7 separate regions of the Homo sapiens genome follow, and all the other regions are linked to region 1. Evidence: promoter capture Hi-C in 16 types of primary human blood cells and fetal thymus (Javierre and others, 2016). All regions are on one chromosome and are shown on one strand. The core of a region is centred on a gene start or on the middle of the fragment in contact, and the rest is flanking DNA. Distances in the headings are between cores, read along the strand shown.

Evidence for each region. The method cuts DNA at HindIII sites, captures the fragments that hold promoters and counts their contacts. A CHiCAGO score of 5 or more calls a contact.
Region 2: a fragment that was not itself captured here is called in contact with the fragment with the promoter of CNGA3 in region 1 in 5 of 17 cell types (non-activated CD4 T cells, total CD8 T cells, naive CD8 T cells and 2 more); the score reaches 9.3 in non-activated CD4 T cells.
Region 3: a fragment that was not itself captured here is called in contact with the fragment with the promoter of CNGA3 in region 1 in 5 of 17 cell types (monocytes, M1 macrophages, total B cells and 2 more); the score reaches 8.0 in monocytes.
Region 4: a contact is called between a fragment that was not itself captured here and the fragment with the promoter of CNGA3 in region 1, in 11 of 17 cell types (M0 macrophages, monocytes, M1 macrophages and 8 more). The highest score is 12.0, in M0 macrophages.
Region 5: a fragment that was not itself captured here is called in contact with the fragment with the promoter of CNGA3 in region 1 in 12 of 17 cell types (M0 macrophages, M1 macrophages, M2 macrophages and 9 more); the score reaches 13.2 in M0 macrophages.
Region 6: a fragment that was not itself captured here is called in contact with the fragment with the promoter of CNGA3 in region 1 in 10 of 17 cell types (monocytes, M2 macrophages, M0 macrophages and 7 more); the score reaches 12.4 in monocytes.
Region 7: a fragment that was not itself captured here is called in contact with the fragment with the promoter of CNGA3 in region 1 in 10 of 17 cell types (M0 macrophages, monocytes, naive B cells and 7 more); the score reaches 11.7 in M0 macrophages.

Annotation. Positions count from the first base shown.
Region 1 is chr2:98,344,551-98,347,856 of GRCh38, reverse strand. CNGA3 (cyclic nucleotide gated channel subunit alpha 3) reads right to left here and starts at 1,401. Exons shown (of 8, transcript NM_001298.3): 1 at 1,323-1,401. RefSeq lists an enhancer at 390-901. The HindIII fragment of the contact is 4,952 bases long and covers 1-3,306 here.
Region 2 is chr2:99,019,434-99,022,800 of GRCh38, reverse strand. It overlaps TSGA10 (testis specific 10), which reads left to right. Exons shown (of 21, transcript NM_025244.4): 18 at 2,319-2,521. Among named protein-coding and RNA genes, the nearest start is that of CRACDL, 85 kb to the right of the region's middle. The HindIII fragment of the contact is 166 bases long and covers 1,612-1,777 here.
Region 3 is chr2:97,831,233-97,834,303 of GRCh38, reverse strand. It overlaps TMEM131 (transmembrane protein 131), which reads left to right. Exons shown (of 41, transcript NM_015348.2): 11 at 878-939. Among named protein-coding and RNA genes, the nearest start is that of ZAP70, 120 kb to the right of the region's middle. The HindIII fragment of the contact is 5,024 bases long and covers 1-3,071 here.
Region 4 is chr2:97,785,667-97,788,815 of GRCh38, reverse strand. The region is part of intron 31 of TMEM131 (transmembrane protein 131); the gene reads left to right. Among named protein-coding and RNA genes, the nearest start is that of ZAP70, 74 kb to the right of the region's middle. The HindIII fragment of the contact is 5,728 bases long and covers 1-3,149 here.
Region 5 is chr2:97,814,465-97,817,675 of GRCh38, reverse strand. It overlaps TMEM131 (transmembrane protein 131), which reads left to right. Exons shown (of 41, transcript NM_015348.2): 13 at 2,369-2,477. Among named protein-coding and RNA genes, the nearest start is that of ZAP70, 100 kb to the right of the region's middle. The HindIII fragment of the contact is 3,223 bases long and covers 1-3,024 here.
Region 6 is chr2:97,749,235-97,752,568 of GRCh38, reverse strand. It overlaps a transcript of ZAP70 not described here. Among named protein-coding and RNA genes, the nearest start is that of ZAP70, 37 kb to the right of the region's middle. The HindIII fragment of the contact is 568 bases long and covers 1,190-1,757 here.
Region 7 is chr2:97,767,055-97,770,185 of GRCh38, reverse strand. All of the region lies in intron 33 of TMEM131 (transmembrane protein 131), which reads left to right. Among named protein-coding and RNA genes, the nearest start is that of ZAP70, 55 kb to the right of the region's middle. RefSeq lists an enhancer at 1-72. The HindIII fragment of the contact is 2,744 bases long and covers 189-2,932 here.

The sequences.
Region 1 (3,306 bases), core at 152-2,651:
GGGGGGAGGGGGTGGCGGACAGTGCATAATGTTAGGGGCACCGAGCTGTCCACTCCGGGATGGAGTCTGAACCCGGGTGGGTGCCATTCCTGCTGATCCCAGCCTCGCCCCTTTGGAAGATGTGATGGGGAGCGTCTGCCGTCGGGGTGCCGGGCTTCGCTGCAAGGGACTGCTCCCGCCAGCTTCCGGCGAGGCCTGAGCCGGCGGACTGCGTGTCAGAGGCACCTGGTTCAGGCCAAAGAGGCCGGGGCGCCGGCTCCAGGTCCTCTAGGTTCCAGCGCCATTCATCCTCCCTCACGCGCCGCGCCAACCGGAGACCCCCGCTGCAGAGGGCCGAAGTTAAAGTCCCAGCTGCGCCGCTCAGTAGGGAGATTACACAGGGAGAAAAATGAATCACCCGGCCCGGGGTTGCGGGACTGCGAGGGCCTGCGCGCCAAGGCCCCCAGGGGCGTCGGGAGGGGCCGCGGGCTGAGCTAAAGAGAAAAGCCTGACGGCTGGGAGCCCGGCGCCTTTATCCGGTTAGGGGATTGCAGAGGATCAGAGAGCCCGCCGCCCCTTCTCCTCCATCACCGAGCACTAAGCCCCGGGCGTCCGAGATCCCGGGTGTGATTTTATCATTAAAAAAAGTAACCGCGCACTCCTAAAAGAATTTTAATTCTCGCCTCCTCCTCAGCCTACCTTTCTCTTTGAATCCCCAAGGGAAAATAGTCCCCTGGGTTGGGGGGCAGTCCTTCGCCGCTGCCTTCCCCCGGCCCTGCTCCCTCCAGGCCACTGACTCAACCTCCCCCGGCGCGGCGCGGACTCGAGAAGACGCGGCGCCCGCTCCCGACTTGGAGCCGGGGAAGTGGGTCCTTCCCGGACTGGCGGTCCGGGGACAGCGTGACAGGAGGAAATGTATGGGGTGGGGTCGCGGCTGCAAGCCCTACCCGTCCCCAGCGGGAGCCAGCCCTGCTCCTTCTGCCTCCCGCCCCGACGGCTCAGCGGGCTCGGCCCAGCGCGGCTGTGGGACGTGAGTAAAAGGGGGTGCGATCGGCTTGGGGAGCACGGGGAGGGCTTCCTGTCCTTTGAACTGGACTGGAGGGGTATGGGAGCCGGGGAGTGGGAGCCGAGGCCGTAGCCGATCCTTTTTCACTTTCTCTCCAGCCCGCGGCCCGTTTCAGCACCGGGGGCTGCGGACAGCGCCGCGCCCGCCCCTGGAAGCAGCAGCATCCCTCCCCTGCGTGTGGTTCTCTAACTTACCTCCTGTATGGGGTCTGCGGCCCCAGCACACCTCCCGGCGCCCCCCAAAAAATTCCAGCTCAAGAGCCCCTAAAAATCCTTACCCTGCCAAAGTTTGAGCTTCTCCGCGGCGCGCCAGGGTCTGCGGAGCGCCTCCTCCCTCGGCCTCCTAGGCGCAGTTCCGCTCGCTCCCTCCCCCGCGCTCCCGGCCCAGGACTCTGCTCGGCGACTGCTGAAGGAGCCTGTGGCCTCCCTCTCCGTGGGAAAGTAAGGTGAGGCTCTGGAGCCTCAAAGGCGGTCCGAAAGAGGCAGAAGTCATTAGTTCACATCCCCAACCCTCCCAGGGAGGACGGGGAGAGTCAGGGGCAAGAAAGCAAACAAGTCCGTCGTTCCGTTCTGGGTTCTCTCCTAACTGTGGGCGGCCACCCTGGACTCCTTCCTGGGATGTTTTGCTGGTAGTGTAATCCACACTGGATGAGTAAGCAACAGAGATCTGGGGTTTGAAGTTTAAAGGTGGGGACACACACACACACACACGCACAAAGTCTTGGACCCGTTTGCCATCTTAGGGAAGATGTTAGAAACAAGTTTCTCTTTGGGACAATGTGTATTCTCCTTGCAGAGTTTTTGTTTCCTTCCATCACATCAGATAACATCGGATTTCCTGAACTAAAAATTAAAACCACCAATCCAGCTAGTAATTATTTAACCCCTATTGAAGCCCAAGGAACTTAAACTCTTTTTGGAGAAAATAACTTTATTTACTAAAACTCATTTTCCTCCCAGAAGGTGTACTTCCAAGAACACACCTCTCCATGAAGGATGAAGACCGAATCCTGCCTTTCCCTCACCAGCAATTGCATGCTCTGGTTCTGGATCGCAGGAGCAGGTCCCGGGAGGAATCCAAGCCTCCTTGCCTGGGACAAGCCTCTTGGGTTCCAGGTTCTCTTGACTGATACCCTCATGGGAAGAAACTCCACAAAAGCAGATCCCACCGCAGCCAGCTAACCAGAGCTTCTCTGAGGACTTGGAGTACATGGCATTTCCTAGCATACTTATCAAATCGCCTGTTAATTGAACACATTATCTTTAGAAGGCTTAAGTTCATCGAGTTCATGCAATACTTGAAGGGAGAGATGAAGTGTATGTTTTTCACTGAAGAAATAAAGAATTAGAATGGCTCACACACACATGTGCATGTGTGCACACATGTCATGTCTTAAAGGGGGGAAGTAAAACCTAGACAAATTTTCCCCCAAAGAAAATCAGGCTTAGTCGTTCAGATTCAAGGGACTCTGGTAGTGGAAGAGCAAATAAATGGAAGTGGTGAATCAACAAAAGGAAGCCAAAGCCACAGAAGTTGGAAGAGAGGAGAATTCTTATTTTATTACTTGGGCTTCTGAAAGGAACCTGAAATTATAATAATTTCAAGAGAAAATATAATAGATGAGACTTTGCCTCATTGAGGACTTCAGTATTCTTATTCCAGGGAATCTCCACGTGCCTCAATTATGAATCTCCACGTGCCTCAGTTGTTATGTGCATTTTTTTTATAGTTCTCATTGTCAGGAAATGCTTTATTTCTTCTAATCTCATTAATTTATGCAACAAGTTAAAGCTGTTTCCTGCTGGCTTGTCCTCAGGGAAGACTGGAAGCAGATGATTATTTTCTGTTGTCCAGAAACATTTCAGAGTTTCAAAAGAATCTTAAATCCTGATTTTGGAGTAAATAGTAGTGATCATGAGATCATTTTAAGGCATCATCCTGAAAAATCCCCTTGGACTTTGTTTCTGAAATGCACATCATTCCTAAGATTTGAAGGGGAAAACAAGACCTCACAGAATTAATCAAGAAATGGAGAAGTGTCCTGAGTCTGATGAAATGAGATAGAGTGTTTAGCACAGAAATGGGCACATAGTTGGCCCCTAGGGAATGATGTATGTGGCAATAGTTATCATTGAAGAACTTTGGGTGTCTGAAAAGTGGAAACAGATGAAGAGACTGGAAATGAATGGAAAGAGACTGAAGGGGATGTATCTGTGAATTTGCCTGCAAAAGTCATCGAGCTGCAAGATCCTAGGCTGCCA
Region 2 (3,367 bases), core at 445-2,944, 670 kb before region 1:
TGGAAATGTAAAATAGTAAGGCAACTTTGTAAAACATTTTGTCAGTTCCTCAAAATGTTAAAAATTAGATTGCCTTACAGCTCATAAATGTCACTTCTATCTATTCAAGAGGAATGAAAACATGTCCATACAAAAACTTGTATACAAATTTTTATGGCAATATTATTTATAATAGTCCCAAAGTATAATAAGTCAAATATTTTTAACTCATGAATAGAGCTGTGGTTTATCTATGCAATGGAATATTATTAGGCAATAAAAGTGATGAAGTTTTGATCCTGCTAAAACATCGATAACTCTTAAAAACATTGTGCTAATAAAGGAAGCCAGTCACAAAAGACCGCATACACATTGTTTGTTTCCGTTTATATGGAATACCCAGAATAAGGCAAATAGTAGAAAATAGTTTAGGGGTTGCCTAGGGCCAGAGAACGTTCTGTGTTGGGTGTTTTTTTTTTTTTTTTTTTTTTTTTTTTGAGACAGGGTCTCCTTCAGTGGCCGAGGCTGGAGTGCAGTGGTGCCATCTTGGCTCACTGTATCCTCAACTTCTGGGCTCAAGCAATTTCCCACCTCAGCCTGCTGAGTAGCTGGGACTACAGGCCTATGTCACCATGCCTGGCTAAGTTTTTGAATTTTTTGTAGCGATGGAGTTTCACCATGTTGCCCAGGCTGGTCTCAAACTCCTGAGCTCAAGCAATCCACCTACCTTGGCCTCCCAGAGTGCTGGGATTACAAGTGTTAGCCACCATGCCCAACCTTGAGTTTCTTTTTGGGATGATGAAAAAGTTCTCACATTAGATTGTGGTAACGATTGTACAACTGTGTTAATATGCTAAAAATCATTGATGGCATGTGAATTATATTTCAAAAAAGCTATTGTCAAAAAAATCACGGTCCATTTTCTACTCCTGCCAGCAAAGTATATGAGATTGCCATTGCCCAATGTAATGTTCATTAACACAAACTAACAAATTTGCGATAGACTAGAATAGACTAGATAGACTAGAACAGTGTCTTTGGTAGAGTTTTTCCAGTTCAGCTGAAAGAGAGTTTGCTCCCAGTGTGCATTTAGTAATGACATTTTTGGTGGTCATGACTAGAGTGGGGAATGCTGGTGGCGTTGATTGGGCAGAGGCCAGGGATACTGCTAAGCATCCTGTAATGCATAGTGCTGCCCCCACTCCAAATAATTATCCAACCCAAAACATCAGTAATGTTGAGGTAAGAAGCCCTGAACTAGTAATAGCATCTTGTTTTAGTTTATTTGATTACTAGTAAGGGTAAATTTTCCCCATACGTTTATAATTTACTTGTATTTCTCCTTTTGTAAATTTTCTGATCATTATCATTTAGCTCATATTTCTCATCAGTTTATATGCGTTCTTTATGTTAGTAGAGATATAAGCTATTAATTTGATTTACTAAGTTTATTTGTCTTCCAGTTGTTTCCTTTCAAATTTTGGTTAAGTTTATATTGACTATCAAAATGTTTATTTTTTTAATGTGATGAAACTTTTTTTTGCATTGTATCTAGCTTAGAAAATTTCCCTACCTACCTATCTCCCTTCCATGTAATTTCATTTTTATTTCTTTTCACTGGAATTTAAAGCTTACCTTTTCAAATTTAACTTTTAAATGCATATAGAATTTGTTATGTATATTACAAGATAAGGAATAATTGTTTTCTAAATACTAGTGACTGTTCTTCCTCCTTTTTAAAAAACATTTGTCTCACTGAGCATATTTTAAGGCTCAAGATAATTTTCTAAAGGAAGCTTTCCACAAGTTTATGCAAGAGAATATAAGAGATTACTCCTTATATTAATTATAATTATATTTAATTACATTATTAAATATAATTATTAATTATATTAAGAGACTATAAGAGATTACTCTTTATATAAGAATATAAGAGATTACTCCTTATATTCCTTAATTATGGAGTCCAATGACATTCTATAAGCATGTAGCTCACCTAACTCAGGACAAAGCAGTGCTCACAGATATCATCCTGTCAGTCTTGCAGGAGTATATAAAGAAATATCAAAGCTGGTAGTAGAAACTGGTTGCAGTTTGAAATTAATAAGCCTTTTCTTAAATTAATGAATTTTCTGATATGATCAGAGAGATGGAGAAAGTGATACTATACATACATGTGTGGTGTGTTTATTTGGTAAGAAGGAGGGACACAATTTCAAATCACATTAAAAGTAGTTGCCAGTTTATAACAGATTATGAAAATTTTGTGAGTCCCTGATAATATAATAGTTAAGTGAATTAATGGGAATAAGTGTAGATATCTTCTTGTTATTGAACAGAGGGAGAATGAGTTAGATTCTGCTCATTCTGAAATTGAACTCCTGAGGAGTCAGATGGCAAATGAGAGAATCTCCATGCAGAATCTAGAAGCTTTGCTGGTGGCCAATCGAGACAAAGAATATCAGTCTCAGATAGCACTTCAAGAAAAAGAATCTGAAATTCAGCTTCTTAAAGAACACCTTTGTTTGGCAGAAAATAAAATGTGAGTTGTTTAGCAATATAAAGTAAAGTCATACATCTTAATTTTTTGGTACTTTAGTAGAAATTTTAAGCTAGAATTTAGAGAATTTGCCTTCTATACTTTGCCTAAGGATCAGAAATACTGTGATTTGCCTAAGAGGTGGTACTTTTTCTATTATGTTTTTCTTATCTAAATTTAAGTTTAATGATCTCTACTGATTCTTTCCAACAGAGTTTTGAGTATGATAGAATGTCTGATCTAAAATACTGCCTTTAGGAAATATAACAAAATGAGAAAAAAAATTAACCAGTTTGAAACCAGAAGAATTTTCATATTTAGACCAATATATTGCAACCTAGTGTTTGCATTTGCCACATCATATTTTCTTTTGTACCTATTGCATGTACTGGATACCTAGAAGAACACCTGCATTCACAAAATACAGAAGACTTCCCAGGACATTGATTTTGGCTTCTTTTCTTTCTTTTTCTTTTCTTTAGGATCTCTAGCACTCCTAGCACCTTATTAAAAGACATTTGGCTGGAGAATTGGGTGGAATTGCCTCCCTGTATAGTGAATTTTTTTTCTATTAAACTTGATCATCTCTCATAAAAACTGATGGGGGACCCTTAACCCCTGTTCTTACCTGTCCCATCTGTAACACTTTTCATCCAGCCTCCACTCTGTCCTCACATCTGAGGTCAGGACATGGGGAAGGATAAGAAGCATGGTCTCAGCAATCAGCCACTCCTAGGAGCCCCTGACTAGGCAAGGGCTTCAGAGCCAGGGCCAGTTTCCTTCAGAAACTGTTTTCAGGTTATAGTGGCGGTGACTGAGTCCTTCTTTTCCATTACTGTAGCTAGCCTA
Region 3 (3,071 bases), core at 152-2,651, 510 kb after region 1:
TCTTGATTTTTACTTCTGGATTTTGTTTAGATATGAGTTATTAAATTACATTTTGACAAAATGTTGAAAGTTTGTTGCAGCTGTTCAGAAAACTCAAATTCTGAAATTAAAAACAACTAAGTAAAGATTTTTGCTAAGGAAAAACTAAGAGCACTTGTAATTTGGGATGTATATGGACTATATATAATAATATGTAGTTAAGATTGAAGACCATATGTTTAAAAATTAGATTTGCTGTTAGTATATTTTTACATTGTAAATTATTAATTTGCTTCATTATGTTTTGCTGGAAAGCTAAAAGATTAGTAATGTCTGACTTCACAAAAAAATAATATTTGGGGGGCTGGGCATGATGGCTCATGCCTATAATCCCAGCATTTTGGGAGGTGGAGGCAGGCAGGGCACTTGAGGCCAGGAGTTCAAGACTAGCCTGGCCAACATGACGAGACCCCATCTCTACTAAAAAAATAATACAAAAGTCTGCTGGGCATGGTGGTACATGCCTGTAATCCCAGCTAGTCAGGAGGCTGAGGTAGGAGGATCACTTGAACCCAGGAGGCTGAGGTTGCAGTGAGCCAAGAATGCCCCACTGTACTCCAGCCTGGGTGACAGAGCAAGATTCTGTCTCATTTAAAAAAAAAAAAAAAAAGTATATATTTTGGGGTTTTCAAAAATCTGGTTTAAGAGGGAACAGTTCTTATAATACACAATGTCCTTATGAGTAAAGCAATTACCACCTAATGTTTCTTTTTATTAATCTTATTGTCATTGTATTTCACAAATTGATAGCTTCAATTTGATATCTTATAAGGTAAAGATTCTAACTTGGCTAAAAAGCACCTTTTTAAGAAATATTTCTTTTCCTCAATTTTAACAGATCTACCAAAAGTTTTAAACCTTCATTTATTAAATTCAGGAACAAAAGATGTACCAATAACAGTAAGTTTTTACTTCTTTTTTCCCCTAATTTATATATTCTTTGTTTTTAAATGTATGACAAAGTTAAAAATAATTAAACCCTTATTCTAAAATAATTATATTTGGTGATGACCTGGTGACACTTTGGTTCTAAGTGTGATGTGAGAAACCTGTTCTGCCCCAGCCACCCGGATTTTAAGGATGAGAGAGAAATGGGCAATCTTTTCAAAGTAAGTTTGAACCAAAGTTCATGAGTTTCTTATACAGGCACAGTCATATAAAAGGCCTGTTCTGATAAATCCTAAAATCTGTGGGCCATGTGTATAGAAAAACAGGTTATAAGGATTTCATCAGATTTGGTTGTTGGAGTTAAGGTATGGGCAGGAAAGAGGAAGAAGAGTCAGATGAATTGGGAAGAAAATAAGCAAAAAAAATGTTGTAGGTAGTGGTAAAGTGCTGTTAACACTTGTCACAGGCTCCCTAACTAGCAGTTATTGAGTTACCGTAGGCAGCACATTATAAACTAAGGCCCTCTCTCCCTCACACATACATACAGAGTAAGTAACTTTTAGGCCATATGGAATTGAGGTGCCGTTAGATAGTTTTAGGAAAAAAAGGGATATCTAAGTTTTGCCTTGGCCCACAACGTCTCTCCCTGATGAGGTCCCCAAGATATATACATGTGTAATCATTATATAGGAAAATAGGACATTTTTATTATAATTTGTGCTGATGCCAGAAACTTAACTTCAGTGAACTGACAAAATGAAATATAGATCATGTGGGCTTGAGATTTAAGGGACCTTTGTCCATCGATGGCCATACCCAGATTTTATCACCAGCTGGTGGAGTAGACCAAAGAGAGAAGAATATACAAACCCCAGCGAGGAAGCAAGAGATGGTCTTCCCAGGTAACCACATTCTGATGCGCAGTGACCTTCCTCACTAGTGGGACCGGGATGCAGGCATTGTCTTCATATCTGACCTAGCATTTCTCCTAGATGGGAAAGTGCCTTTACTTAGCCCAAGCAAACCAGCCTAACTTTTTACGTACAATAAATGGACTGAAACAAGTATCTTTTTCAATAAACATATTATAGGAAAATGAAATTGGCAATTAACCCTAAGAATGTGAATGAAGAACTAGTACTCAGGTCACTTATGACATGGAATTAAATAGGCCCATGTTTGTCCTTTTTCTTATTCACTAAGGAGTTTTAGGATATATTGTAAGTGAACATTTTTGCTCTTACTGGGTCAGGCACTATGCTAGTACTGCTATGTAATAAATGTATTACTTAATACCTATATGGTGCAGTGGTCCTAGTTTTCTAGATAGGAAAGCTGAGTTAGAGCTGCTTTTTTTTTTTTTTTTTTTTTTGGAAGTGACTTACACAACTATAAAAAATGCAAAAATAGGCCAGGCATGGTGGCCTCACGCCTGTAATCCCAGCACTTTGGGAGGCTGAGGCTGGTGGATCACTTGAAGTCAGGAATTCAAGACCAGACTGGCCAACATGGCGAAACCCTGTCTCTACCAAAAATACAAAAATTAGCTGGGCATGGTGGCATGTGCCTGTAGTACCAGCTACTCAAGCTGAAGCAGGAGAATTGCCTGAACCTCAGAGGTGGAGGCTGCAGTGAGCCAAGATCACGCCGCTGTGCTCCAGCCTGGGCAACAGACCGAGACTGTCTCAAAAAAAAAAAAAAAAAAAAAAAAAGAGGTATGTGAAACATGAAAGTATATTATACAGTGTCACTTAGCAATCACATCTTTATGAATATATCATTTTAATTGCATAGTCTATTTCTGTTAAAAACCTATATATCTGTTAATATAATACATCTGTACCTACATCTGTACCTACCTATGTGTGTATCTTTTATAATATCCAAAGCCCAAACTCTGCCAGTGTTTTGGTAGTTTTCTCTTATTCCCGCCTTCATTCACCCATTCAATAAATATTTAATGAACATCAACTGTATGCTAGCTGCTATGCTGACTGAGAATACAGCAGTGAATCAGACCACTGGGGTTCCCTACCCCATCAAGCTCACTGTTTATCAGGGCTCTCTGGAACTCTGGGAGATATTTAGATTTTATTCTAAGTGTAATGGGAAATTATTACAGGATTTTAAACGAGAGTGACATC
Region 4 (3,149 bases), core at 30-2,529, 560 kb after region 1:
CAGTGGTGCTGATCCACACTTGCCAAGGTTTCAGACGTGACCACAATTTCTCGTGCACCCTGGTGACTGGCACTGCTTGCTACGGTTTTCCAGTAAGGCAGCGCTGGGCAGAATGGGAGCAAGACCCAGTCTGTGTGATTCTAACTCCTGCACTGTGCTGCCTCCTCGAAGAAAAAGAGGGAGGGGGAAGAAAATGAGGAGATAATTGGTGAAACCATGTGCCCAGGTGGTGGAGTGGGCCGAGACCCAGTTTGGTAGATGATAAAAGGATGGACAGTCCGCAGGTGTGCAGATGTGCGTGAGTTGGTAGAGATGGAGAGGCAGGATACGGGTTTTCACTTGAACTTGAGGAGTCAACTTGAGGCAGCATGTGGGTTTAGGGAAGTTTTTACTTGAACTAAGTCATCCTCTGAGACTGCTGGGGGAAGTGGTAGGGTAGAAACACAAAATAGACAAAGTTTGGAATAGTCAGATTCCACGTTGCTGAGAATGTTGTAGGCCCAGGGAGTCAGCAGGGGCAGGAAACTTGGATCTGTACGCTGGCCCCTTCAGCAACATTGGAGGCCCAGCCGAGGGCCACTGAGGCACTGCCTCAGGTTTGTGTCACTTTCTCACTTGTACCCTGCAGCCCAGTGGTGAAGAATGAAAACTGGGTAGTTGGTGGAGTAGGACAGTGCTGGAGTTCTGTGGGGCAGGGACAGCAAAAAGACAGCGAGTGAGGACGTCACAGGAGTGCTGGCAGGAGAGCGGTGGGGTGCTGTGCTGGCAGTGTCGAATTAGCAACTTGGGGAAGGACCTTTAGCCAGAAGGAACCTCACAGATAGAGAACATGGATGAGTCAAGGGATGGGAAATCCAACAGATTGAATTTCGAGGATGGTGGGAGCAAGGAATGTTAGGAGACTAAGGTTTAAAAAGGAGGTGTGAGTGTAAGGTTTCAGAGGAAAAGCAGTTCTGGGCAATACCAGGTTCGTAGGTGCAGCCTTGGAAATGGGATGTCAGAGTGAGCTAGAGGTGAGGTCCACAGTCCTTATGCAACACTCTGGGTGCCTCGTGTGTTTGAGAATTCAGAATTTTGGAAAGGTATGTAGTCATGCACCACACGATGCAGAAGACTGTAAAAGTAGGTGAACATCAGCAGCCACCAAAAATATATAGTCATATTAAGTTTTGTTTCTAAATGAGTTTGGGGAAAAAAACCTTTGAGAGTTTTTTGGATTTCAGATTTACAGATAAGAGATTGTCCACCTGTATAAGGCCTGGGGCCCAGACAATGGGAGGTCCAGGAAAAGAAGAAGTCCGTAAGTGTGATGCCAGCACCCCTGAAGCCTGGGGAAATTCTTTCTGGAGGTCACAGTTGGTGATTCTCTGGAGGTTGTCCAGAGATGTCCCTCTCAGGTGCTGTCACTGATATGACAGGGCCTAACGTGGGACCACATATGTTCAGAGAACCCATTTGCTAGTGATTGAAACTTCCCTGAAATAGTTCTTTTGGGTGGCAATTAAATGAAATGATTTAAAGTGGGAGAGAGGCAACTAACTAGCTCAGACTAACGATTCATTCAGAGCACCTAGCTCAGACAAATTCATTACACAGCATGTAGTGAAGATAAAGACGAAGTAAATGTCTAGGACATGCTTTTTACATAGATAATTCATACTTTGCCTACATTTAAAACAGATTAGAGGCAGTTTAAATTATCATAGCACATATAAAACAATGAATAAAAGTCAGAAATGGTTTTTGGTGTTTCATCTGTTTTTTAGTTACGGTACTATCAGCAGAAACCTCGAATAAAGTTAGTTGTTACCATTAAGTGTTAAGTTGAACTGCAAATTTTCTGGCAGTTATGGTTGAGGAAAAATGTCATATAGTTCTGAAGGAAAAGGGGGCATAGGAGTTCATCTGGAAAAAACAGTTTGCTGGCATTAAATTCCTGCCTGAATCTGAGGACATCGAATAGTAGAACGGATATCGTGGCTCTGTTACAGAGACTATGGCAATGTTCTTCACATAGATCCTTTCTGTCGGCCCCCCGTCAAACCCAGCATCTTCACATTGAATGAGAGCTCCTCACCTACACCGTGCCTCTCAGATGAACACTCAGTCACCCCCACATGCACAGCATTTATGGTGACCATGGGTAAGTATAGCTAGTGGGTGGTTCTCTACACTAAACATTTAGCAGCCTAAGTGTTCTTCCACACACTGAGGTTAGCCCCAAGGTACCCCACAGTCAGAGACAAATGTTTTTGTCAATAAAGAGTTTTTGGTTTTTGGTTTTTGGGAGTTTTGTTAAGACAGAGTCTCACTGGCTGGAGTGCAGTGGTGTGATCTCAGCCCAGTGCAGCCTCCCAGACTTAAGGGATTCTTCCACCTCAGCCTCCCAAGTAGCTGGAACTTGTAGGTATGCACCACCATGCCTAATTTTTTTATTTTTATTTTTGGAGAGACAGGGTATCCCTATGTTGTTCATGCTGGGCTCAAGCAATCCCTCTGCCTCAGCCTCCCAAAGTGCTGGGATTACAAGTGTGAGCCACATCGTATCTGGCCACTTGCTTGTTTTTTAGCTTTTTATTTTGAGATGCTTGTAGATTCACGTGCAAATAATAAATTCAGAGATCTCTTATACCTTTTACCCAGTTTCTCCCAATGGTAACACATTGCAAAACCACTGTACACTATTACTATACCCAGGATAGTGATGCTGATACAGCCAAGACACAGAACATTTCCAAGCCCACAGGAATCCTCATGGGCCCTTTTCTAGCCACACTCACTTCCCTCCTTCTTCAGCCTACCCCTTAGTCTGGCAACTATGATTCCATTTATGTAACATTCTTGAAATGACAAAATTGTAGAAATGGAGGAGATTAATAGTTGCCAGACTAAGGAGAACTTTTCCCCAAAAGGAATGTACCATTTTGGTTTTTCTGAGTCAGTTTAATTCTCTGGAGATTCACCAGTGCGTTCCTTTTTATTGCTGAATAGTAGTCCAACTTATGGATGTACTGTAGGTTTTTTAGTCATTTGCTCATTGAAGAACATTTGGATTATGTCTAATTTGGGGCTGTTATGTATAAAGATGCTACAAATATTTGTGTACAAGTTTTTGTATGAACACAGAACTTCATTTCTCTAGGATATGT
Region 5 (3,211 bases), core at 164-2,663, 530 kb after region 1:
TGGCCTCAGGGTTCATCCTGTGAGCTCAGTGAGGACTCTCAAGGAATAAAAATCACATAGGCAGCATACTTCATGATACAGTTGTCAAGAAATAGTATTATAGAAGACATTAATGCCACAGTAATTTCTACATTTGTGGTAAAGTGTTCTCTATGCTGCTGAGAGACCACATTCATGCCTACCAGTGTCAGTATCACGAGGTACATTGTCTTCCCTTACAGAGGAGGAGGCGGCTAATTTTTGTATTTTTAGTAGAGACAGGGTTTCACCATGTTGGCCAGGCTGGTCTCAAACTCCTGACCTCAGGTGATCTGGCTGCCTCAGCCTGGCAAAGTGCTGGGATTACCGACGTGAGGCACTGCACCCAGCCAGGATAAGAGCATTTAGGACCCACCCTTCACAGATGTGCCGGAAAATTCTCCACATGGTCTGCAAGGGTGAAGAGCTGCTCTGCAAGGGTGAAGAGCTACTCTTCTCTAGCTCCTGTATTGACCACCCACTTAATCTTTCCCTTCTTGAGATAAATGCGATGTCATTAGTGTTGGTTCTTCTGAGATCGTAGGCTCTAAGATAATTGTTTCTTAAAGAAATATGTAAAATTAAATAACAACAGCAAAGGGAAAGCATCTTTAAGAGCAAATGCTACATTTCTTAAAAGTAGGTTTTTAATATCATGTGAAAATCCCCCCACCATTCACCTCTCCCACTGCCATGCTGGATCCCCACACAAAATACCTCTGAGATTGCTGTGAAAATCAGTCAGGAAGTGTGTGTTATTTAACTTTTAATATTGTTAGAATGCACCTTATATATGTATTAACTCTGCAGTGTTCATTTATCAAGCATCTTTCTCATCAAAAGTTATTCTTCATGATTTTCAACAGAATTTTCTTGAGCTTTTTGACCACTTTATTTGCTATGTATGATACAATGTCATGAAATGCTTAAATGTGGCCCTTGTAATCAGTCTTACGTCAGAACAAATAGTGAAAAATTGAAAGCATCCAGAGATGGCTAACTAGCAAGCAGAGAAATAAGAGGCTGAATGGGAATTTTTAAAATGGAAAGTCTGTGTCTGCCATAGTCAAACACTAGATGTCATACCATTTCCTTGTTCTTTTTTGTCATGAGGTTGGATGACACACATTTGCGGAACTCACATATGAATTCTTCACATAAATGGAAGTGTTCCTAAAGTACTCTAAGAGGATAAACATAAACAGCTTCTTTATTTGCTTTGAAAAGAACCATCTAATGGGTACCTAGATTGGACCCAACTGAATCAATTTCTGTAATTCCTTATTTATTTATTTATTTTTTAATTTTTGTTTTTTTGGGTCAGAGTCTCGCTTTGTTGCCCAGGCTGGAGTGCAATGGCGCAATCTCGGCTCACTGCAGCCTCCACCTCCCAGGCTCAAGCGATTCTCCTGCCTCAGCCTGCCAACTAGCTGAGATTACAGGCACGTGCCACCACACCTGGCTAGTTTTTGTGTTTTTAGTAGAGACAGGGTTTCACCATGTTGGCCAGGTTTGTCTCGAACTCCTGACCTCAGGTGATCTGGCTGCCTCAGCCTGGCAAAGTGCTGGGATTACCGATGTGAGGCACTGCACCCAGCCAGGATTATTCAAAACTGCTATGAAATCTGAAGTTTTTACTTCATCTAAGATGAGGACAATATAATATGATGACAGGAGGGGATTTATCTCCTCTTATACCATGAGTTTTAGGGTTGGCTGGTTTTTGAGAAGAGCTCTGAATTCTTGACTTTTCTTATACCATGCTACTTTATTGGTGATAGAGCAAGACTTTGGCCATACAAGAAATGTTATTTCTTTCTCAGTTCAAGTGTAAATCAGCAGGGCTAAGTGGGGGGTAATTTTGCCTCCAAGGGGATATCTGGCAATGCAGAGAGGCATTTTGGTAGTCACAGCTGCAGGGATGCTACTGCCGTCTAGCAAGTAGAGGTCCGGGATGCTGCTAAACATCCTACAGTACACACAACAGCCTCCGCAACGAAGAATTAATCTGGCCTAAAATGTTAACAGTGCCAAGGATGAGAAATTCTGCTGTAAGTAAAGCCAAAGCCTGTGGCTACAGCAAAGCAGCTTAGGTACAGTGTTTTACCTCCTGAACCATGCTCACCAGCTAATTCCTTATCTGCTTATCTTATTACAGGAAATATAAAACATTTTCCCCCTTTTGTATGAAAAATGTGATGTTTCATTTAAAATGTTATAAAAAGTGTTCTGTTGGCCAATTTGGAAGCTCAACTTTTTTTTTTTTTAAGATTTTGTCAATTTACATAAATTCACTAATTCTCTTTGGTAGTAAAAGGTAACAGAGATTATTTTTTATGCTTCCTTTCAGCATCGAAGGCAAAAAAGCCATCTCAGTTTTCTGGGAAAATAACAGTTAAAGCAAAGGAAAAGAGTTATTCTAAACTTGAAATACCATATCAAGCAGAAGTTTTAGATGGGTGAGTTTCTTTTTAAAATAAATTCTATTACTTTTTACTAATCAGTAAATTATATTTTCCTGCTAAATGACCTGCAGAAATACTAGCCACGTTCACATAAACTTGATGGAATTATTTTTTGAAAGAACAGCCCCAACTATAAAAGAGAAAACCTCCTATATTTTGTTTATATTTTACTTTTTTAGAAGAAAAGGGTAAGTGGGATGATAGGATTTGGGCTTAAATGAAGACTTAATGATTCAAAAATCTGATTTTTTAAATATTATTTAAATCATTTGAACCATTTCCTTTCTGACATTTGTTTGTAATATGTAAGTGATTGTGGCCTATTATTAAAGTATTTTGACACTCGAAACAGAATTCTTTATATTCCTTTATAAATTCATAAACACTTCTAGAATTACAACTTTTTATAAATGGGAAGTGACATGTTCATTTTCTATTGTACTTTAACCAATAGTAGTTTAATACTCAACTTGGCAAAGATTCATTTTAGCAAAGCTCCTTGTAATTCAGTGATAAGCATGATTTTTTTCAAAGTAAAGCTTTTTTTGTTGATATGTCTTTGATTCTAATTGTATGATTCATATAATTCATTAGAGAATGGTTGTTTGTATTAATTTCAGTATTTTGCAAGCTAAATTTTGTTTTAAATCATATAGTCAATCACTAAAATATTATAGTTCTAAATCTTTAATACAATCCCTAATGCTAAATGTAAATTATTACTTACA
Region 6 (3,334 bases), core at 224-2,723, 600 kb after region 1:
AAGAAACAAGATCAGCCTATAGAAACACTCCTGTGATCTCACCGGTCTTGAGAAATTCAGAGGCTGCTATTAGTGTCAGAACAAGCCCCTGGTTTGAAAAAAGAAAATGGGGAAAGTTCTGATGCCTTTTACATCTTAGGAGGGCCAGCTGATGTCATGAAAAAAGGTGATAGTGGAATCTAACAAAAATTCTTCATGATGTTACCCATAATTAGATAGCTGTAAAAATAAATTGGCAACAATATTAATTAAGCCAGGTAATTTTAGAGGTATTGCCAATAATGGTTACAAAACATCCCCCTGTGAATGAAATCCTGATAAAACATTTAAATGTAGACGTGAGCAGGAACTGGAGAGCTTGAAGGCCCTTCAGACCCCTCCAAGTAGACTCCATACAAATGCCTTCTGCCGTGGATTATAAATACATTCTGGTTATTGTTTGTTTATATTCACTGTGGATTGAAAATTTCCCTGCCAGAGTGACAAAAAGTGCTTGATTTTGTTTTCCAACCTGGAAAATCCCCACTTACTTCTAATGACAGAGATACTCCTTTTTCCAGACCAATGCTGTGGTTTGTTTGGCCCTGCTGAGTCTCTTGTTGAAATATGATCCCCAGTGTGGAAGGTGGGGCTTGGTGGAGGGGATGGAGCCCTCGTGAATGGCTTGGTGCCATTCTCATGGGACTAAGTGCTCACCCTTAGTGCCCACAAGAACTAGTTGTTGAAAAGAGCTTGGCACCTTCCCCCACCTCCCTCTTCCTCCCTTTCTCACCGTGTGGTCTGCACGGGGCTCTCCTTCACCTCCACCAGGAGTGCACCCAGCCCAAGGCCCTCAGCAGAAGCCAATGCTGCTGCCTCTACAGCCTGCAGAACCCTGAGCCAAATAAACCTCTTCACACATTACTCAGCCTCAGGTGTTCCTTTACAGCAACACAAAGGGACTAAGACATACTGTTATTAAGAAACACTGAAGTTGTGCCTTTAATCCAGAGATTTCACTGTCCTTGTTTTCTCCAGTCCTCTAGAAAAACAGAACTAATGGAATTTTTTTAAAAATAGCATACCTCTCAGAAACCTCCAAAATTCTACATCTTAAGAAATTACCATTAGCATTATACGATCAACCACCTCTAGGTCCCATGTTGCTTCTTATGAATTCATAACATGCCACTGTATACAGTTTGAAGCTTCATCCCATCTTAGATTCTACATGATTACATTTTATTTCCAGCTTTATCTCAACATAAATATGAACTATACAGTATATCCAAAACACACCCGCCTCTACGTGATCTACAGCTTCTGTACAAAAGGCACACAAAGACACGAAATTTATTGCTATTATAATAATATGCTCCCCATACGATCTGTGCTTCAGTGGGACACTACATCTTATTAGCCCATGTCAGGCTTATATTGGTCTGCCACACACTCATGTATATTCAGAGTGGTTAGATATGTTCAGATATTTACAACACCCACGTCTCCAGTAATCCATTCTTTGAAAGAATACCCAGCAATCCAGCGTAAAATTATCATAGATGATTCCAAAACCTTCCAGTAGCGATCCTTGATTTGCTCTTCATGCATACTCTGCAAACTCCAGTTCCCACCAAAGGAATAAAACGACTAGAGAGAGAGTTCAAAACTAGTTGGTAATTTTAGCTGAAGCCATAAACGAGACCACTCTGCTCTGAAAGTCCAACCGACTAATCTAAGTCCATTCTTTAGAGTTATCAAGGACAGTCATATAAGCTTTATTTTCCTCTTAGCCAGCAAAGGGACAGGTCATGCCATAACAAATACTCCTTTTTTATACCTAGAAAAACACCACAGGGGAACAGGACAGTTTGTGACTATTAGAAAAAGCCTTGACCTCTAAAGCCAACCCAGCTGGCTTCTGGAACATGCGCCCATTACCTGGAGGCGCTCTAGGCCCTTGTCTTGCAGACCTGTTACGAGGACTAACAGTCCTTGCGTTTCTCGTAATTACCTGTAAATGGTTGGCTAGTATCTCCTGTCTAGAGTTTTAGATGGTACTGCACACCATTTCTTTCATCATGCGATTCAACAACTCGCTTTACAACAGACAGGAAAAAACTGTTAACTCTGGTGTAACTATAGACTGCGTTCATTAGACACTCTTGAGCCAGCCTCCACTCCAGAGCAAACCCCTGACTCCATAGACCCACCCCCCAAATAAGCTAATAACCAAGGCCCACATCCTACAATTGCTACTTCCTGACACCCTCTTAGGAGACACCCCAGCTCACTGTTGTTTGGGTCCCCCTTGCTGCAGGGAGCAACAAGCCCAGCTGCTTTAACTGCGGTGCGTTGCTGCTGCACTGCGGGGAAGGGCGTTGACCATTTGGGTGTACACATGAGTGCAGTGGCATGGATGAGTGTGGCCTGGGTTCCAGTCCTGGCTCTGCCATTTACTGATCATGGCCCTTGGGCACACTCTGCCCCTCTCAGAGCCTCAGTTTCCCTATATGCAAAACAAACATCCTCAGGAGGATGGTGTGAAACATGAGGCCAAATAAATAAGTGGTAGCACTTCCTATTGTCTGTTACTGTGGTATTCCAAAGACATTTCCCAGTGTTAAACCCCTAGAAATGGCAACTTCCTGATGGGGATGGAACTCATTTGGCAGGGGGCATGAGGCCACCAATCTGGAGCCTCCTGAGCTCCTTGCCACTGCCTGGGGCCCCTCCTCCCACGCCCTCATCCCTCCCACCCTCACCACTGGGTCCACCGCCAGCCTGGGCTCCCGTTTGCCTCAGCCCCGCCTCTCAGCAGAACTGCGGCAGCATGTCCAGGGACAAGGTTCTTAGAGGGACTGGATTTGGACCATTCCTCCCAGCCAGATATTTTGCAGCAGGGAGAGGAGGCTGCATCAGATTCCTATGCCCACAAAGCACCACCTCCTTTTCCAGTTAAGGCAATGTGGGGCTGCAAATTTTCATGCATTCAGGATCCTTCTGTAACTTAATTCCTTTGCCGTCAGTCCCCTCCCGCTTCTGCAGAATGCATGCTCCTAGCAACTCTCACAGACCTGACCCCTGACAGTCATTGCCCACCCGGAACTCCAAAGCCAGCAGGGCTTGCTGCTGCCTAGAAAGACCTATTGCCATCATTCCCTTGTCCCTGCTCTATAAACGTCCTTTTGGGAAAAGCACTCCCATCTCCCTCCTTTCCCACACAGACAGCGCACTATGCGTGCTATTAGTCTGTGCCTTTTGTAAAAATAGGAAGTGTCAGCCGGGCGCGGTGCCTCATGCCTGCAATCCTAGCACTTTGGGAGGCCGAGGCAGGCGGATCCCGAGGTCAGGA
Region 7 (3,131 bases), core at 311-2,810, 580 kb after region 1:
CATTCTGATAATAAATGTCAAACACTGTCACTCAGAATCACAGCCAGTACTAGCTTTAGTGATTCCTGAAATTCCTGTCACCTTTTAGTGTGTTAATATATAACCCCACATGTCTGAAGGACAGGTACACATCTTTTAATAAGATATGTCATTAATAAGGCATATATCATTGCTGTCTTTCGGAAGCTTTGTGAGAGGTGATAAAGCCAGAGGAGTGGCTCAGCCCCATCCATCCACACTCCCAAGAGTTGACCTCAAAAAAATCACTTGCTAGGAAATAGGAGGGTGGGGCTGCAGCAACAGAAATCTGATCTAACCGTGTTTTCCAGCTGTGGCAACATAGAAATGGGCCTGCAGACCTCCGGAAAACTGTAGTCTATGGCAGAGATGCCAAGGAATGGGAATCAGATCTCAGGCACTGAAGGTTTCTGCAGAACCAGGAAGGGCCCAGGGCATCCCTGGTTTAGGACCCTGAGTATTCACTGATCCTTTTGTTTTTCTATTTGTTTATCAACAGTATATGTTTACATAAATGTAATAATCTAAAATAAGCAAAAGAAGTAGATTAATCATATTATCTGTAAAAATCTGCTTAAATAACACTCTCAACTCAGGCCCAAGGGCTGTGAACACCACACTGCACACGCCAGCCCCAGACCTGTCAGCACTCAGAAAACCCTGCTCCACAGCTGGTCATGTCCCTAGCTGTGTCCTCAGCTCTGCCTCTCTCCTCCCCAGACAGAAATGTGTACTGTGTATTACAGGAATAAAAATAGGCCAGGCTTGAGTCAGGTGTAACGTTGTGAAAAGCAAAAATAAAAAGAATACGAAATCTCAGAATATTAAGAAAAAGAAAAACATTATTATTAAAAAATGGAGGAAAATATATTATAAAAATAAGCCAGGTGTGGTAGCTCACATCTATAATCCCAGCACTTTGGGAGGTCAAGGCAGGAGGATTGCTTGAGCCCAGGAGTTCAAGATCAGCCTGGAAAATATAGCAAGACCTTATCTTACAAAAAGTTTTTCTTTTAAATTAGCCAGGTGTGATGGCACACACCTGTAGTCCCAACTACTAGGGAGGCTGAGGCAGGAGTTAGAGACTGCATAGAGCCCAGGAGTTAGAGACTCAGGAGTTGAGCCCAGGAGTTAGAGACTGCAGAGAGCCGTGATTGCACCACTGCACTCTAGCCTGAGCAACAGACTGAGACCCTGTCAGTAAATAAATAAATAAAGCCTGGCATCTGAACCACCTGTTTTTCCTTTTTAAAAAGAATCACTTCAGTCTGGGCACGGTGGCTCACACCTGTAATCCCACTGTAATCCCAGCACTTTGGGAGGCCAAGGACGGCAGATCACCGGAGGTCAGGACTTCGAGACCAGCCTCACCAACATCGTGAAACCCCATCTCTGTTAAAAATACAAAAATTAACCAAGCATGGTGGCACACACCTGTAATCCCAGCTACTCAGGAGGCTGAGGCAGGAGAATTGCTTGAGCCTGGGAGGCAGAGGTTACAGTGAGCCAAGATCGTGCCACTGCACTCCAGCCTGGGTGACAGAGTGAGACTCTGTCTCAAAAAAATGAATCGCTTCAATTAAGTTGGCCGTTACCCATTTTATTCAGAAGCCTTAAAAAAGGATTCTTGATAGAGATCATCTGGCTTAATTTAGGAAAGTATGAATCAGCAAAAATAACAGGAGTTGTCTGGCACCTTTCTTCTTAAAAACCAATTACTTTTACAGTGGCACAGAATTTAGTTTTGTATAAATAGCTACCCACGCACACTTAAAAATAGATCACACCCACACCACCTCCACCACCAGAGGGCTGGTGTCTACTATGGGAGCCTTTGGGGTTTTTTTAGAAGATGGGTTTTTTAAATAACCCTGTCAGTCAGAAGTAGAAGAGATACAAAAGATTTTATAATGTAGCATTCATCATCTGGCCCATAAACAGTGGATTTTTCACTTCAGTTTGTTATCCTACCTAAAATTCTAGTTATTTGGGCTAACGGAAACCCTTTGGCTTTTTGGTTTGCTCTCTTACTAATTCCAGATATAATACCTACTTATTATTATATAATACCTACTTGTGAAATACAACGAAACAAAAGAAAATGTCCTTTGACCCTACCACCTTATAAAATGTTTGTAAATAGCCTTCTTAAATGTATTTGTTTATTTATGAGCTCACACTTTACATTGAGGATGTTGGGGAATGAGGGTGTTATGGTGCCGTTAGATCGGGAAAGTTGGAACTCTTCTCACCTTTGAAATCTCCTGTGAATGAGCACAGCAGATTGCCTCTGACCCAGAACCTAGCTGAAATGTACTGTATCCTGTGGGCTGGGAGGACAGAAGGCAACATGGTGCGTGAAGAACTTGGAGGATGGGGCCGGGAGTCCTGAGTAGTATCACACACTTGAGGGTTGGGAGCAGAAAGCACACTGAAATGTGGAAAATGCCGGCGATGCATCCATTTTACACCATCTGTGTAGACTTTGTAGATTTGGAATGAAAAGCTAGCCATCAGCTCAGCCCTGAACTGACAGCTGTCACCAGGAGCTCTGTAGAGATCCCTGAGGATTCTTGGAAGATTTCTCCAAAGGGGCCACTGGGCTCTCTGAGCTGCATCTCAGCCTTTGCTGGAAAAGGTCCTTCTTGGACCACATTAGCTGAGCTCCTTCCGGAGGTCCTCCCAGTCCCAGACATGGTCTTGGTGGGCATTAGAGATGTGGCTTCATAAAGAATGCCTTTGTAGCCCATATAGGTATTCTACTCACAATGCTGTCTTCCATGGGCCAGCTACCCAGTTCATTTCTCTCAGAGATTCATTCTTTCCAGCTGCTGTCTCCCAGCAGGTTTTCCTACCTCACTTATTGAGCTTTGGAAACTTAAGATATATTTATACATGCTTATTATCTTAAGCTTACCTCAATATCTTTCAGAAAGCGTCACTCTAAATAAATCAATAAAAAATATATTTAATTTTTTTGCTTAAGATTAACCCTGAGTTCAAGAATAAGGAAGAAAATTCATCCTAGCCCACTCCCTGTAGTAACCAGGAACTTAGCTCTGGGTCACCTCATAATTTCTATGAGAAAAATTTGTTCAGTTTTGAATAGTGGA